Linked DNA regions of Homo sapiens: regions 2, 3, 4 and 5 are each linked to region 1. Evidence: promoter capture Hi-C in 16 types of primary human blood cells and fetal thymus (Javierre and others, 2016). All regions are on one chromosome and are shown on one strand. The core of a region is centred on a gene start or on the middle of the fragment in contact, and the rest is flanking DNA. Distances in the headings are between cores, read along the strand shown.

Evidence for each region. Contacts are between HindIII fragments. The CHiCAGO score rates a contact against its expected background, and 5 or more counts as called.
Region 2: a fragment that was not itself captured here is called in contact with the fragment with the promoter of BCAT2 in region 1 in 1 of 17 cell types (endothelial precursors); the score reaches 5.9 in endothelial precursors.
Region 3: a fragment that was not itself captured here is called in contact with the fragment with the promoter of BCAT2 in region 1 in 5 of 17 cell types (endothelial precursors, M0 macrophages, erythroblasts and 2 more); the score reaches 6.0 in endothelial precursors.
Region 4: a fragment that was not itself captured here is called in contact with the fragment with the promoter of BCAT2 in region 1 in 13 of 17 cell types (endothelial precursors, erythroblasts, megakaryocytes and 10 more); the score reaches 12.6 in endothelial precursors.
Region 5: a fragment that was not itself captured here is called in contact with the fragment with the promoter of BCAT2 in region 1 in 1 of 17 cell types (endothelial precursors); the score reaches 5.1 in endothelial precursors.

What each region holds. Positions count from the first base shown.
Region 1 is chr19:48,809,425-48,812,695 of GRCh38, reverse strand. BCAT2 (branched chain amino acid transaminase 2) reads left to right here and starts at 1,667. Exons shown (of 11, transcript NM_001190.4): 1 at 1,667-1,712. The coding sequence starts at 1,689. It overlaps LOC105372432 (a long non-coding RNA gene), which reads right to left. Exons shown (of 3, transcript XR_936017.4): 3 at 1,859-2,352. RefSeq lists silencers at 92-401, 1,478-1,697, a cis regulatory region at 48-588 and enhancers at 1,450-1,744, 2,018-2,087. The HindIII fragment of the contact is 3,241 bases long and covers 1-2,233 here.
Region 2 is chr19:48,628,986-48,632,256 of GRCh38, reverse strand. It overlaps SPHK2 (sphingosine kinase 2), which reads right to left. Exons shown (of 7, transcript NM_020126.5): 7 at 1,852-3,271. The coding sequence ends at 2,484. It overlaps DBP (D-box binding PAR bZIP transcription factor), which reads left to right. Exons shown (of 4, transcript NM_001352.5): 4 at 1,205-2,227. The coding sequence ends at 1,420. Among named protein-coding and RNA genes, the nearest start is that of DBP, 6.8 kb to the left of the region's middle. The HindIII fragment of the contact is 1,674 bases long and covers 801-2,474 here.
Region 3 is chr19:48,989,342-48,992,612 of GRCh38, reverse strand. It overlaps GYS1 (glycogen synthase 1), which reads left to right. Exons shown (of 16, transcript NM_002103.5): 2 at 1,130-1,311. Among named protein-coding and RNA genes, the nearest start is that of GYS1, 2.3 kb to the left of the region's middle. RefSeq lists an enhancer at 2,457-2,848. The HindIII fragment of the contact is 1,116 bases long and covers 972-2,087 here.
Region 4 is chr19:48,972,012-48,975,282 of GRCh38, reverse strand. It overlaps GYS1 (glycogen synthase 1), which reads left to right. Exons shown (of 16, transcript NM_002103.5): 11 at 550-663; 12 at 944-1,070. Among named protein-coding and RNA genes, the nearest start is that of FTL, 8.3 kb to the right of the region's middle. The HindIII fragment of the contact is 1,204 bases long and covers 861-2,064 here.
Region 5 is chr19:48,677,852-48,681,122 of GRCh38, reverse strand. It overlaps the pseudogene SEC1P. Among named protein-coding and RNA genes, the nearest start is that of NTN5, 6.5 kb to the right of the region's middle. The HindIII fragment of the contact is 8,665 bases long and covers 1-3,271 here.

The sequences.
Region 1 (3,271 bases), core at 418-2,917:
AAAGGAGTTTTCCTCTCACTGCCTGTAGAATAGGAAGGTGGCTGGCAAGAAAAGTCCAAAGGGAAGAGAAAGTAGGGGGTTGAGACATCTGGATCAGAGGGAGGAGGGGCTGAAACTCCTGGGTTTTGGTCCGCAGGGCACTGGGGGACGCAGACTCCCCAGCTGGACCCAGGGGGGGGGCAGGGCCCGGGTGCGCTGGCGTCCCCCAGGTGAGGGGTGGAGCTGCAGGGCTGCTGCGGATTGGCTGTGGCCGGGGGGGCGTGTGCACCAACCGCTGATTGGCCGCGGCGGGGGCGGGAGCTGTCAGTGGGCCCCGACCCTACAGCCCGGGGCTGGCGGGTGGGGCAGGAGGACTGGGGCGGAGCGCAGAAAAACAGGGCGACGCCCTGTGAGGGAAGGGTCCCGCGGTTTGGCTGTTTGGGCCTGTGGCTGTTAGGGGTGGCAGGATAGTGACCCGGGGACAGGACTTGGGGGCACTGTGGGGGTAGAATTTGGAGACAGAGTGTCCCAGGGTAGGATTGCCGAGACACGATGGCCGAGGGATACGATTTTTTTTTTTTTTTTTTAATTTGAGACGGAGTCTCACTCTGTCGCCCAGGCTGGAGTGCTGTGGTGCAATGTCGGCTCACTGCAACCTCCGCCTCCCGGGTTCAAGCGATTCTCCTGCCTCAGCCTCCCGAATAGCTGGGATTACAGGCCCCCGGCACCACGCTCGACTAATTTTTGTATTTTTATGTATTTATTTTTATTTATTTATTTATTTTGAGACGGAGTCTCACCCTGTCACCCAGGCTGGAAATGCAGTGGCGCGATCTCGGCTCACCGCAACGTCCGCCTCCAGGGTTCAAATGATTCTCCTGCCTCAGCCTCCCTAGTAGCTGGGATTACAGGCGCACACCACCACACCCGGCTAATTTTTGTATCTTTAGTAGAGACGGGGTTTCACCATGTTGGTCAGGCGGGTCTTGAACTCCTGACCTTGTGATCCGCCCACCTCGGCCTCCCAAAGTGCTGGGATTACAGGCGTAAGCCACCGTGCCTGGCCTTAATTTTTGTATTTTTAGTAGAGACGGGGTTTCCCCATGTCGGCCAGGCTGGTCTTGAACTCCTGGCCTCAGGTGATCCACCCGCCTTGGCCCCCAAAGTGCTGGGATTACAGGTGTGAGCCACCAAGCCAGGACTTTTTTTTTTTTTTTTTTTTGAGACGGAGTCTCACTCTGTCGCCCAGGCTGGAGTGCAGTGGCATCATCTCGGCTCACTGCAACCTCTGCCTCCCCGATTCAAGCAATTCTCCTGCCTCAGCTTTCCGAGTAGCTAAGATTACAGGCGCCCGCCACCACGCCCGGCTAATTTTTTGTATTTTTAGTAGAGACGGGGTTTCATCATGTTGGACCAGGCTGGTCTCTAACTCCTGACCTCAGGTAATCCGCCCGCTTCGGCCTCCCAAAGTGCTAAGATTACAGACCTGAGCCACTTCGCCTGGCAGGGACCGTATTTCAAGTCCTGCCCTCCCACCAGCGCCTGCGCCCCGCAGCAGTGTCCGGCTCCCTGCCGACGCCCTGGAGCTGGGACGGCCTGGGGCGCTGGTCGGCCGCCTTCCCCCAGAAGGAGGCGTGAGCGGGGCGTGGCCGGAACGTCTCTCTTCGGAGCCGCGCCCCGGGCGGGCACAGTTACGCGCCGCACGGATCATGGCCGCAGCCGCTCTGGGGCAGGTGGGTTCGCAGCCCCGCGCCGGGGTCTGGGAAATAACCGGGGGAGGCGCACTTCCGGGAAGACCACTGGCCTGCAGCCGGTCCGACTCGGCGCCGCTCCTCCCGCCCTGGGGTTCCGCTGCAGGGCGCGGAGGAGGATGGCGCCCTTTGGAAAGGAGCACGAGGCTTTAATGGGGTGAGGGGGAGCAGGTAGACGCGGATGAGGTGGGGCAAGTAATTGGCGGGGAGGTAAAAAAAAAAAAAAAAAGGGAAACATGGTGGAGGACCCTGTAATGAGGGAGGCGTGGGGGTGGGGAGGTTGTGATTTGGGGAGCGGAGCCCTGGGGTGCGGTGGGGCATCAGCCTGTGCGGGAGCTGGAATAAAGGGGCCCAGACCTCCAGGGCCGGGTGCAGGTGAAGGCAGAGTTGGACCTCAAGTCTCAGCTCTGGGAATTGGACTCAAGGTCCTATTTTCTTGGAATGAAAGTTGAAAAAAATAAGAGATGGGGATTGCTGTGCTTCCCAAACTCCTATCTGAAGCTTTGCACCTGGATTGGAAATCGAGGCAGCGTCTCATGGTCAAAGTGACAGATGCTGCAGGCTGGCTGAGACGATCCCTTCTGACTGTGCGATGTCAAACAGCAGCAGCGTTTCCCAGAGTCTATGATTTCAGAGAACAAGGTTTCTCAGTGAGGAAGGAAACAGCCAAAGAAAGGGGTCATTACAAGCCTTCACAGCTGCGGTGTAACCTTGGGAGAACTGTCTGTTAACTTTACACCTGACTTTATTTGAGTCTCTTATCCTAGCTGATGAATGTCAGGGCAGAATTTCACTTTTTTCGGCTCTTAGTGACTGATAGGGATAGTCCTGGGATACCTGGGGTATGTGGGCAATCTGGGCTTTAGTGGTGACACTCCTGGACTGTGGTGGGGCAGTACTGGGCTTTGACAGGTCCACTTGGGACTGATGTGGACCGTCTCATCATGGCACAGTTCTGGTGTCATAGAATGGCCCTGAACTCATGATGGGACATTCCTAGGCTCTGATGAAGATAGAGATATCCTGTAATGGAGATAATTGGGCTGAGTCCTCAGCTGTGATGGGGACAGTCCCGGGGTGTGGAGAGGACAGTGCTGGACCATGGTAGGGACAGTCTGGAAGGTACTGGCCTAGACAGCAACATAGGGATAGTCCTGGGGATTGAAAAAGACAACAATGGGATTTTTTTTTTTTTTTTAATTTCAGACCTGGTGAATAGGAAATAAGCCCTGATATTTGGCAGAGACAATGCTGGTTATAATGGGGAAAAGTGCTGGGCTTTGGATAGGGGACATTCCTGAGCTGTTTGGGACAGTACTTGGCTCTGCTGGGGACCAGTTCTGATAAGTTACAGGCACAATCTGGACTTGTGATGTGGAGCATCTTGGGCCATCATAGAACAGCCCTGGTCTGTGATGGGGGAGAGTCCTGGGCTATAAAGGGGGCAGTTCTAGACGTGATGGGGTCATGTGTGGGCTGTGACAAGGGCAGACTGCGGTATGATGGGGTCTCTCCGGGGCCGTGATATGGGGACAGTCCTG
Region 2 (3,271 bases), core at 388-2,887, 180 kb after region 1:
GCTAATGTAGGAAAATCGCTTGAACCCAGGAGACGGAGGTTGCAGTGAGCCGAGATCGCGCCACTGCACTCCAGCCTGGGCGACAGAGTGAGAACTCCATCTCAAAAAAAAAAAAAAAGAACAAAAATTAGCCGGACATGGTAGCGGGCACCTATAATCCCAGCTACTTGGGAGGCTGAGGCAGGAGAATCGCTTGAACCTGGGAGGTGGAGGTTGCAATGAGCCGAGATCATGCCACTGCATTCCAGCCTGAACGACAGAGCGAGACTCCATCTCAAAAACAAACAAGACTTTGCCATACCCTTGCGTAACACATAGCTACTTGAAGCACCTAGGACTGGCCTGGAAGTCAGATCTACACCAGTGGTTTCTCCTTCTAGAGGGCCCTGTTGCTAGGGACTGGATTTACCCTCACAAGCAGGAACTGGGCTTTAATTAAATAGTGGAGTAGAGAGCATCTTTCTGAGCCCCGTGGTCCTTGGTTACTAAGGAGGAGTCTTCCTTAGGAACCAACTTCCAGGATGGGAGGACTTTAGGTATAATCCTCTGGGGAGGTCTCAGGATAGTCCCCTTTCCTAAGAGACAGCTCTTCTCTCAGTCAGGTCCTACTGGGGAGGAGGCTATTCTCTGGCCTCAGTTCAAGGCCAGCAGGTCAGAGGCTGGCCACAGTCATTGAAACCACTTAGACCTCACTTTTGTTTGCCAAGGATGGATGAGGTTGCCTTGGCAACCAGGTCAGAAGGCCCCAGCTCTGCGAGGATTTTATGGGACACCAAACCCCATCACCAGGGCACCAAGCTTTCCTTAGCAACCAGGATCTGGAAAGGCAATGTGCAGGGCAGGGCAGTGCTCTTCATTGGGAGAAGCCCTCAGACCATGAAGGCCTTGTTGCTAGGGAACAAGCATCCTTAGCAAGCAAGAGCTAACTGCATGCAGGCCTTTATCATGTGGGGAGGGCTGGGGTCCGCTTTGCAGAGTGGAGACTTGAAGCGAGTTGCTTGAGGGTGGGGGGTCTATCTCATGCCTTTACTGTTGCTAGGGGCCCAATCTCCTTAGCAACCAGGGCCCTAGAAAGGCAGACCCTTGGGTACCTATCCCAGCAGAGACCTGGTGTGGTTTAGGCCCCGCTGCTGGGGCTCCCTTCCTCTCTCGCTGGGACCTGGGTCCCTCTGGACCTCAGTGCTCTCCCCCTCTTCTCCTGCAGGATGAGAAATACTGGAGCCGGCGGTACAAGAACAACGAGGCAGCCAAGCGGTCCCGTGACGCCCGGCGGCTCAAGGAGAACCAGATATCGGTGCGGGCGGCCTTCCTGGAGAAGGAGAACGCCCTGCTGCGGCAGGAAGTTGTGGCCGTGCGCCAGGAGCTGTCCCACTACCGCGCCGTGCTGTCCCGATACCAGGCCCAGCACGGGGCCCTGTGAGGCTGCCCCACATCCCCACCTGGCGGAGCTCTCCTCCGCCTTGCTGAGACTTACGCCCTGTTCCCTTCCTGCCCTGTGGCCCACGGGCCGGCCAGCTGGGTGCCCCAGGGACGTGATAATGCAGATAAATACATTTATATTTTTAAGAAAAAGCGAGCCTCCCCCCTCCCTTGCGGGGGCGGGGAGGGTTCTCTGTGTGTGTCCCCGGCACGTCAGGGACCCTATCCTCCCACCGCCTCCGTTAACACGATCCTGAATAAATCTTGAGAACCCCAGAGCCAGCTGTTGTGGAAGAAGAGGGCAGCTCCCTGGCATACTGGCTGCAGCCCGTGGGCAGCTCCGGGCTGTCGTCCATAGAGGGCAGGCGCTGCTGGAAGTGCTGGAGTCTGAGTCCTCCCGCGGGCTGTCGGATGGAGGAAGGGCAGAAGGTCTGAGAGGAATGAAGCGACTGCCTTTATTGCATAGACCTTTTCAATTGCTTTTTAGATTGGGGACGGAGGACGCGCATGAGACGAACAGGGGATATGAATTTCCCCGCCCCCACCCGCGGGGAGAGGAACATTAGTGCAAATCCTAGCGCCGGCCCCGGGGAACCTGCCCCTCCTGGGCTGATTGGCCAGCTAAATGGAGGCACCGGAGTGGATGGGGCGAGGCTGCGGGCCCTGACCGGCCGACTCACTGAGGCCTACCCCAGCCAGTACATTCCAGGTCCTGTCATTGGGCGACGCGTAAAATAGACTCCGCCCTCAGCCATCCTGGCCGGGTAGGAGCAGGTGGCAAGCGTCAGGACTGAGCCCTGCCCCGTAAGGGCGGCCCCAGATCAGACGCCAGGCCCCGCCCTCATTGATCAGGCACTACCCTCGGGACGAGCCCATTTCTCTTTAACCGTGACGACGCCCACCTTCCAGCATCACGTCTGGTCCCATGAAAGCGAGCGCAATCCTGAGACGGGGCCAGGGCCCCTGCCACCACAACTCTAGCAGCCAGGCCACACCCCCTAGCTCAGGCTCCGCCCCATTGGAATGTAGGCCCCGCCCCCGGCGGGTACCAAGCTTGTTTAGTTTCAGGGCTCCCGCCCCGGGCAGCCAGGAGGCCCAGTGAGCAGTGTACCGATGCCAGGGTGCATCTGTGCCTGTAGCGGCCCATACTCCACCTGCTCCCCGTCCACTGTGAGCACGCCGCGTGGTGTGAGCGGCTCTAGGCGGAAGGCACGGGCCGCGGCGTAGCCCAGCTGCGGACAGCCCAGGCTGAAGTGGCTACCACGCTCCATGGCCAAGAAAAGGCGCAGCAGCGCAGCCCGCGAGATGCCGCTACGCACCCAGCACAGGTGCACCAGGCCGTCGTCGAAGCGCGCATGCGGAGCTGCCACCAGGTCAGCGCCTAGGTGGCTGGGCGAGATGGCCAACATGAGCACAAAGTCCCCCTCCAGCGTCACCCAGTCTGGGGGCAGCGGGGTGCCCAGCGGAGGCAGCAGGTGGTCGGGCGGGCCGCAGGTGGAGGCCCCTACCCGGGCATCAGGGGTGGGAAGTGGGAGCCCAGAGGATGGGGGAATTACGGGGGCCCCTTCGGAGACGGGTGAGTGTAGAGCTGCCTTGGGAGAGCCAGGAGGTGAAGACAGCAGTGGGTCCGGGGACAGCGGAGCATCCCCAGCCCCACCCCAGTCCCCAGCCAGCTCTGGGCCCCCACCGTTGAGGGACAGGATGGGCAGGGGTTCTGGCGAGCCAGGAGAGGCCAGGGCAGGCTGGGGCAGGGGAAGAGGCAGGTCAGACACAGAACGATGCAGGGGTGAGTGGGCCATGGGCGGGGCTGGGTCTGGGGTTAGGGTCAGCTCCGACTTGGCACGAGGCAGGC
Region 3 (3,271 bases), core at 280-2,779, 180 kb before region 1:
TCTAGGGGATAAAACTCCAGATTTGAGAGAGAGCTGACTGGGAGATAGGAGGCCTGAGCGGCGGTGGGAGGACCTGAGGATCTGGCTGCTTAAGAATAAAGATGGGACGGGCTGGAGACTGTAATGAATGCCTGGGCTTTGAAGGAGCTGAGGGCCTGAGCTATTAGTTCCTAGGAGTAGAGGAGCCCATGGCCTGGGACACATGCGTACTGGAATAGGGGAAGGCTGGGAAGTCCTAAGTTAGTCAGAGGCTGGGCCCTAGGATGGGAGGGGCTAGGAGCCTGCATTTCTGTGTCTTGGGCTTCAGAAAGCTGAGGTTCTGGCCTTGGAGAAGGCTGGGGCTGAAATCCCCAGGAACAAGCCAATCTCACACCTCAAAGAGCAGGGTCTGGGGGGTTGCTTTGCTGGGTCTTGGAGGAGAAAGGGACTGTGTCTCCCAGGAGGAGAGGGGGCCCGTGAACACCCAGCCGGGTATCGCCAGGGCCTGGGCTCCAGGATGGGAGGAGGCTGGGGGCTGGGGCTCCTGGGTCTGGGATAGGGTCATGGGAGAGGCAGAGCCCTGCATGCTGGTGTCCCTAGTCAGGGAGAGGAAATTGGGAGGCAGGTCAGCAAGGTCCCTGGGGGCAGGGAATGACCATGCAGGCTTCTCTTGGGCAATGGTGAGAAGCTGGATTGGCCATGAGGGGGTCTCCCTCACTGGGTTTTGGAGCCTGGCTGCGATTTAAACCCAGCTCCTGTGAGCTGGGAACTCGGGAACCTGAGTCCGGGTAGTCAGTCCTCAGCTCTGCCATCCTTAGAGCCCCAGTGCCTAATTCCTTCAGACCAAGGGGTCCCGGCACCCAGCCCCTTCTCTCTCAGACCCAGAAGTCTAGCCTGAGCCCCCTCCTCCTTCAGGGTCCTGACCCCAGCCCCCTTCTCCCTTAGACCCAGGAGGACTGCCCTCCAGCCCTCGTGTTCCCCTCATCCAAGCTTCCAACCCCTACTCCAAACTATGGGCTCCCAGTCCCCTCTTCCCCCTGAGCTAGAGGTCTGGGGCCTGAGTGCCCCCTACATCCCCGGCCCACCCCACCCCAGGCCCCAGAACTATGGACCTCGGCCGGGGCCTGCCCTCACACGCTTGGGCCCACAGTGGGTGGCATCTACACGGTGCTGCAGACGAAGGCGAAGGTGACAGGGGACGAATGGGGCGACAACTACTTCCTGGTGGGGCCGTACACGGAGCAGGGCGTGAGGACCCAGGTGGAACTGCTGGAGGCCCCCACCCCGGCCCTGAAGAGGACACTGGATTCCATGAACAGCAAGGGCTGCAAGGTGGGACGTGGCCCAGCCCAGGGCAGAAGCGGGTGGACAGCCTGCCATCGGGGTGGGAGCCACAGACGGAGAGGGTGCAGGGTGGACAGCCCCAGCCAGAGAGCGAGGCAGGCTTGGACACAGGAAGGAGGCGTGATAGGACACCCAGACAGATGCAGGGCCTGGAAGTGGGTGGGTGGATCCCAGACATGGGCGAATGGACAGACAGATGGCAAGTATGAGACAGACTGAGACGGAGATCCAAGAGGCCAAGGTCCTCAGACCCAGAGAGAAAGAGAGCAAGATCGAAAGACAGCCTGGTCAACATGGCGAAACCCCGTCTCTACCAAAAATACAAAAATTAGCTGGGTGTGGTGGCGGGTGCCTGTAATCCCAGCTACTCGGGAGGCTGAGGCAGGAGAATCGCTTGAACCCGGGAGGCGGAGGTTGCAGTGAGCTGCGATTGGGCCACTGCACTCCAGCCTGGGCGACGGAGCGAGACTCTGTCTCAGAAAAGAATGCCAGCCAGCCAGGCAGAGCTGGGGAGAAGTGGGCCTGAGGTCAGGAAGGAGCAGGATTCTGGAGCTTGAAGTTCAAGTTCACCCTCCACTTGCTGCCTGTGTGTCCTTGGCTAATGGACATGCTAATAGCGTCTACCTTCTAGCGGTGCTGGGAGGAGGAAACAGTTAATAAGGACAAAGTGGTTAGTAGAGTTCTTGGCATGAAGGTAGCACATTGTGTGGGCGGTGATTGTCATTGTTATGATCATCGTCATTATTGTTACTAACAGCCAAGCTTGGAGAGTGAGGGGGACAGGCAGACCAAGGGAGAAGGGTGGATGGAGCCACAGGCAAGAGTAATAGACTGGGGACAGAAGAGAGGCCACCAGATGTTTCAGAAAGCCAGTCCTAGAAGGAGAGAGAAGCATGGAATATCGGGGAAGAGAGGAGAGGTCAGTGGACAGACCCACAGGACAGAGTCTGAGATGGGCAGATCAGGGATTAGAGAGGAGGGGGAGTTCCAGGGCCCCAGGGTGAAGACGGAAAGAGACACGCTGTTGTCCAAGGAGAAAGCCATCAGGCGGCACGCTGTTGTCCAAGGAGAAAGCCATCAGGCGGCAGGGCTAAGGGACAGACAGGTCCAGGCTGGGGATGGAGAGGCACTGTGGTTCCTTTACTCATTCACAGCCTCTGGTTTGGGGTGGGGTCTGGAATCCATTCAGGTCCGACTGTGTCCCTAAGGGAACCCAGAACAGCCCAGTCGCTTCCTGAGGGCAGCTGCTTCCCACGTGCTGGGGGCCTAAGAATAGCCCCCCCCCCCCCCCAGCAAAAGGGCAGACAACAGCTGGGAGGGGGAGGGACCTCAGAGCGAGGCTCCAGGCAGCAAAAAGCCAGGTCGGCGAGGAGCGGGGCTGCTTCTCCACTGCTGTGGCAGCAGGCCCAGAACCAAAGCCATGGTCTCAGGGAGGAAAACAGCCAACTGGAGAAATGTGGCAGAGGCAGAAGTGAGACAGCAAGTCTTAGAAACACGGCAGTGGCTAGAAAAATGCAGCCCTGGGGCACGGACAGAGGATGGGCTATGTTAGAAATGTGTGGCGTGGCCGAGGGCGGTGGCTCATGCCTGGAATCCCAGCACTTTGGGAGGCCGAGGTGAGAGGATAGCTTGAGCCCAGGAGTTCCTGACCCACCTGGGCAACATGGCGAAACTCTGTCTCTACTAAAAATACAAAAAATTAGCCAGGCATGATGGTGCGTGCTCGTGATCCCAGTTACTCAGGAGGCTGAGGTGGGAGGATGGGATGTGGAGGCTGTAGTGAGCCATAATTTTTTTTTTTTTTTTTTCAGATAGAATCTCACTCTGTCGCTGAGTCTGGAGTGCAGTGGTACAATCTCGACTCACTGCAACCTCCGCCTCCCGCGTTCAAGCAATTCTCCTGCCTCGGCCTCCCAAGTAGCTGGGACCTCAGGCACATGCTGCCACG
Region 4 (3,271 bases), core at 213-2,712, 160 kb before region 1:
GGCCAACATAGTGAAACCCCATCTCTATTAAAAAAAAAAAAAAAAAAAATTAGGCTGAGCGCAATGGCTCACGCCTGTAATCCCAGCACTTTGGGAGGCCAAGGCAGGTGGATCACGAGGTCAGGAGATCTAGACCATCCTGATTTAACACAGTGAAACCTCGTCTCTACTAAAAATACAAAAAATTAACCGGGCGTGGTGGTAGGCGCCTGTAGTTCCAGCTACTCGGGAGGCTGAGGCAGGAGAATGGCATGATCCTGGGAGGTGGAGCTTGCAGTGAGCCGAGATTGTGCCACTGCATTCCAGCCTGGGCGACAGAGCGAGACTCCGCCTCAAAAATAAATAATAATAATTTAAAAGAAAAGAAAGAAAACCTTTACAGGTTGTACTAGTGGGAATCCACAACTCCTGGTGATCACTTGGGTTTGTTGCCCCACGTCCGGTGCATTTGTGGTCTCCTTGGCTCCCCCAGGGTCCGCATGGCTCATGAGGAAGTAGGGAGTTCTCTGTCCCTTCCATGACCCCTTACCCTTCTTGTGGCTCCTGCAGCGGCAGTCTTTCCCCCCTGTGTGCACCCACAATATGCTGGATGACTCCTCAGACCCCATCCTGACCACCATCCGCCGAATCGGCCTCTTCAATAGCAGTGCCGACAGGGTGAAGGTGAGGGCATTTGGTCAGGGCTGGGTTGGGCACGGCAGAGGGAAGGGGTTGGGTCCTGGGCCTCACACACTCCATTCCCCTATAAGTTTTATCAAAGGTATTGCTGTGGTTAGAAAGAACCCTGGCTTCTGAGGCAGGCAGACCTGGGTTTGAACATTGGTCCTGCCAAACACATGCTGTGTGATGCTAGACAAGCTTTTTACCCTCTCTGGGCCACCTTGGGATCTCAGGGCTTAGCTAAATAAGGCACTTGGGCTGAGTCCTTCTTTTTCACTACCAGGTGATTTTCCACCCGGAGTTCCTCTCCTCCACAAGCCCCCTGCTCCCTGTGGACTATGAGGAGTTTGTCCGTGGCTGTCACCTTGGAGTCTTCCCCTCCTACTATGAGCCTTGGGGCTACACACCGGGTGAGTGTAGTGGGCAGGGGACAGCGTGGTCATGGCATCCTAGTCAGAGCTAGCATGTCTTGGGGCGAGGCACTGGCCTTCTCTGAGCCTGTTGCCTTCTTTGCAAAACAGGAACAATGGTAATCACCTGTTCTGCTACAGCGCGTGCTTTTGTGATACAATAGCTCATGTATTGAGAAACTAGAAGACTGGGTTTTGAGGACTAGTGAACTGGATGTCACAGTTCACACTGCTTTCTCCCAGAAAGCAGTGGCCCCCCAAATAGTGGCAATGAAATGCACAATTCACAAATACAGCCGAGTGTGGCCAAGTCTCCTCGTAAGACGTTCCCAGTGCCCATCAACTCCACCTTCCTCTTGTTGGTTCACATTAGCCAGTGTTTTTAAAGCTAAATAAGGCTGGGCGTGGTGGCTCATGCCTGTAATCCCAGCACTTGGGGAGGCCAAGATGGGCAGATCATGAGGTCAGGAGTTTGAGACCAGCCTGGCCAATATAGTGAAACCCTGTCTCTACTAAAAATACAAAAATTAGCCAGGTGTGGTGGTACGCACCTGTAGTCTCAGCTACTTGGGAGGCTGAGGCAGAGAATTGCTTGAACTTGGGAGGCGGAGGTTGCAGTGAGCTGAGATCATGCCACTGCACTCCGGCAGTGCTGTGCTCTGGGTGACAGAGCGAGACTCCGTCTCAAAAAAAAAAAAAAAAAAAAATTAAAGCTAAATTAGTGCCATTTCCTAATTTATTAGTAATTTAACAAGTCCTGCAAACTGTGCTTGCATGATAATTAGGAGTCGCGGTCAGCCCCAATTCCCTTTTTCCATAGGCCTTGTTTTATAGATAGATTGATAGATAGTACTAGTCTGTTTTCACACCGCTATAAAAAAAAAATCCAAGACTGGGTAATTTATAACGGAAAGAGGTGTAATTGACTCACCGTTCCACATGTCTGGAGAGGCCTCAGAAAACTCAGTCATGGCAGAAGGGGAAGAAAGAAGCTTCTTCTCATGGCGGCAGGAGGGAGAAGTATGTGAGGGTGCAGGAAAAACGAACATTTATAAAACCATGAGATCTCGTGAGAATTCACTCACTATCATGAGAACAGCGGCGGGGGAACCACCCCCGTAATCCAATCATTTCCCTCCCTCGACACGTGGGGACTACATTTTGAGATGAAATTTGGGGGGGAACACAGAGTCAAACTATATCATAAATATATATTTAATACATTTTACTATTTGTTTCTTTTTTGAGATGGGGTTATTACTCTGTTGCCAAGGCTCACCTGGAACTCCTAGGTTCAGGTGCTTCTGCCTCAGCCTCTTGAGTATCTGTCATTATAGGTGCATCCCACCATGCCTGACAGATGTATTATATTTAGTGCCTATTTTTGCAGTTTACAGATGTTTTTAGGAAAACTTACATAAGAATTATAGATCAGGCCAGGCATGGTGGCTCACGCCTATAATCCCCACACTTTGGGAGGCCGAGGTGGGAGGATCACTTGAGGACATGAGTTTGAGACCAGCCTGGCCAACATGGTGAAACCCTATCTCTACTACAAATACAAAAATTAGCTGGGGGTGGTGGCAGGCACCTGTAATCCCAGCCCTTCGGGAAGTTGAGGTGGGAGAATCGTTTGAACCCCAGAGGCAGAGATTGCAGTGAGCTGAGATCGCGCCACTGCACTCCAGCCTGGGCGACAGAGTCAGACCCTGTCTAAAATAATAATAATAATAATTATAGGTCAGGGGCAGTGGCTCACACCTATAATCCTAGCATCTTGGAAGGCTGAGGTGGGAGGATAGCTTGAGCTCAGGAGTTCAAGACCAGCCTGGACAACATGGTGAGACCCTGTCTCTATAAAAGATTTTTTTTTTTTTTTGAGACAGAGTCTTGCTCTATTGCCAGGCTGGAGTGCAGTGGCACAGTCTTGGCTCACTGCAACCGCCTCCCGGGTTCAAGTGATTCTCCTGCCTCAGCCTCCAGAGTAGCTGGGACTATAGGCGCCTGCCACCACACCCAGCTAATTTTTGTATTTTTATTAGACACAGGGTTTCACCATGTTGGCCAGGATGGTTTTTTTTTTTTTCTCTTCTTGACCTCGTGATCCACCCGCCTTGGCCTCCCAAAGTGCTGGGATTACAGACATGAGCCACCGTGCCCGGCCTTTTTTTTTTTTATTTTTAATTAGCCATGCGTAGTGT
Region 5 (3,271 bases), core at 501-3,000, 130 kb after region 1:
GTGAGTCCATGCCCCGCACGCCCCACTCACTGCCCCTCGGGTCACAGGATGAGGACCAGGCACATGCAGGGCTGGCTAGAGGCCGTTCTGTCCAGCCTGTCCAAGGTCAGCCGCAAGGCCCACCCACTCTGGCAGGAAGGCCGCTTACGGCCTAAAGACCACGTTGAAAGGGGAGTTGGGCAGGGTGAAGTTGGCCAGGTAGACAGTGTCCCCGCCCGCGAGGTACGCGGCCCAGACCCCGAAGGTGCCCACGGTGATGATGGTGTGGTTGCACTGTGTGAGCAGTGCGAAGTCCTTGGCAGGTGAGCCCTGGAGGCCATTGCCAGCGAACACCACGTCCCCAAGGGAGCTGTTGATGCTCTCCCGGCACCAGGCCATGTCATCGCTGGTGACCACAAAGACCGGGAGGCGGCAGCAGGCCCGGAACCAGTCCAGGGCCCGCTGCAGGTAGCCGGTCGGCCAGCACCCCCTTCCATACGCGCGGCATGACACGGACATAGTCCCCCCGGCGCACGTGGACCCCCACGAAGGTCGCCTGCCCTGCCCACTTGGCCTGCAGGCCCCGCAGGAACTTCTGGGCCTCCTCGCGCACGTGGTCGTGCAGGGTGAACTCCTGGAGGATCTCCTGGCGGAGGTGGTGGTAGAAGGTCCAGGAGCAGGGGTAGCCCGTGAGGCGGACACAGCGCCCCGGGATGTGGCGGTACTCCTCCTCCATCCAGTCGTTCAGGTGGTAGTTCTGCCAGGGGATCCTGCTGGCCGTGGCGCTGTGCAGCACCGGCAGGGTGATTCTGAAGATGGGGGCCAGGGTGCTGTGCATCTGGGCCGGGATGAAGGCGGGCCGCCCGTTCATCTTGGCCAGGGCGTACAGCGTGGCGTACTCGCCCATCTGGTTCCCCAGGCGGCCCTTGGAGTTGATAGTGAACAGGTCCTCCCGGGGCAGGTGTCTGGGGGCCAGGACCACACGGGCTGAGTATGCCCAGGGCGCAGGCACCAGAGCCAGGTGCTGGTGGCAGTGAAAGATGGTGGACACCACAAAAATGGCAAAGACGAAGTAGAAGGTGGAGAAGGAAGGGCGGGTGGCCCAGAATCCCTTGACGGCTGTGGGGAGGAGAGAGGACATGGTCAGGAGGCAGGGCTGGGGGGACAGGAGTCTCTTCACCCACCCCCTGCCAAAGTCATTCATTCACTCACTCAATCCATCCAAGCCTCTGTCCTGAGCACCACAGTGCATGGGAGAGGCCTCAGAGCACAGACCCTGGGGTCTTTCCACCTGAGGCTGAGTTCCTGCTGGAAGTCCCAGCCTCACCAGCACCTTGTGACTTCAGTCAAGTTACTGCACCTCGCTGAGCACAGCGGCTTGTGCCTGTAATCCTGGCACTTTGGGAGGCTGAGATGGGAGGATCACTTGAGCCCAAGTTCAAGACCAGCTTGAGCAAAAAAAGTGAGACCCTATCTTTACAAAAAAAAAAAATTTTTTTTAAAATTAGTCAAGCATGGTGGCATGCACCTGTGGTCCCAGCTACTTGGGAGGCTGAGGTGGGAGGATTGCTTGAGCCCAGGAGGTTGAGGCTGCAGTCAACTGTGATTGTGCCCCCGCACCCCAGCCTGGGCAACAGAGCAAGACCCTGTCTCAAAAACAACAAGAAGTTACTGAGTTTCTCTGAGTCTGTTTCCTCACCTGTTAAATGGGGATGAGTAGATGGAACTATTTGAAAGTGCCAATATTTAACCCGATTTTACCTACACTCATGGCCATTTCTTTTTTTTTTTTTTTTTGGCGATGGAGTCTTGCTTTGTCACCCAGGCTGAAGTGCAGTGGCACGATCTTGGCTCACTGCAACCTCCGCCTCCCGGGTTCAAGCGATTCTCCTGCCTCAGCCTCCTGAGTAGTTGGGATTACATGCATGCACTGCCAACCCTGGCTAATTTTTGTATTCTTAGTAGAGACGGGGTTTCACCATGGTGGCCAGGCTGGTCTCGAACTCTTGACCTCGTGATCCACCCGCCTCAGCCTCCCAAAGTGGTGGGATTACAGGCATGAGCCACCGTGCCTGGCCTACTCACGGCCATTTCTATGATTCTACCTCACAGAACTACCTCATGGGGTTGCTTGAAGATTAAATGTGATGATTTTGTAAAGCAGTGCCTCGCACACAGGAAATGCCCTGTATGTGTTGGAAAATCAATACCTGCAGTGGCTGGGCACGGTGGTTCACACCTGTAATCCCAGCACTTCGGGAGGCCAAGGTGGGCGGATCACCTAAGGTCAGGAGCTTGAGACCAGCCTGGCCAACATGGCAAAACCCCATCTCCACTAAAAATACAAAAATTAGCCGGGCATGGTGGCGGGTGCCTGTAATCCCAGCTACTCAGGAAGCTGAGGCAGGAGAATCGCTTGAACCCAGGAGGTGGAGTTTGCAGTGAGCCGAGATTGTGCCACTGCACTCCAGCCTGGGTGACAGAACGAGACTGTCTCAAAAAAAATAAAAATAACATAAATAAAATCAATACTTGCAGAGTATTTATTACAATGCCAGGCACGGTGCTCAGGGCCAGGAAGCCAGCAGAGGAAAAAACAGGTAAGAATCTTTGGTGCCCGTGCAGAGTTTGGGAAAGAGCACAGGTGGGCCCAAGTTCATGGACAGGCTCTGCCTTCTGCAGGCTGGTGACCTGGAGGTGTTATTTAACTCCTCCTCTCCTCCTCCAAGAAATGGGGCTGCCACACCCCTGCACTGATAAGTGCTAAGCGTTTCCTGATACTATTAGTGGGTGTGGTGGGTTCAAGCCACCACAGACTCCTGGACTCCCTTTCCCTTGGATCTGGGCGGGCCCATGACTGCCTTGACCACTTTAATATAGTGCAAGTGAAATTGTGTCCATTTCTGGCCCAGGACTTAAAGAACTAACAGCTTTCATGTCTTGCCTTGAGAATGTTCCCTCTGCACTATCGTGTCAAGCTGGAGAGTTCAGCTTTTGTTTTTTGAGACAGGTTCTCACTCTGTCACCTAGGATGGAGTGCCAGTGGTCTGATCACAGCTGGGCTCAAGGGATCCTTCCACCTCAGCCTCCCCAGTAGCTGGCACCACAGGCATGTGCCACCATGCCCCGCTAATTCTTACATTTTTTGTAGAGATGGGGTCTCACTGTGTTTCCCAGGCTGGTCTTGAACTCCTGGGCTCAAGCAATCCTCCTGCCTTGGCCTCCCAAAGTACTGAGATTATAGGCATGGGCCAGTTTTAGCTTTTGTATGTAGGGTTATGATTATTCATTT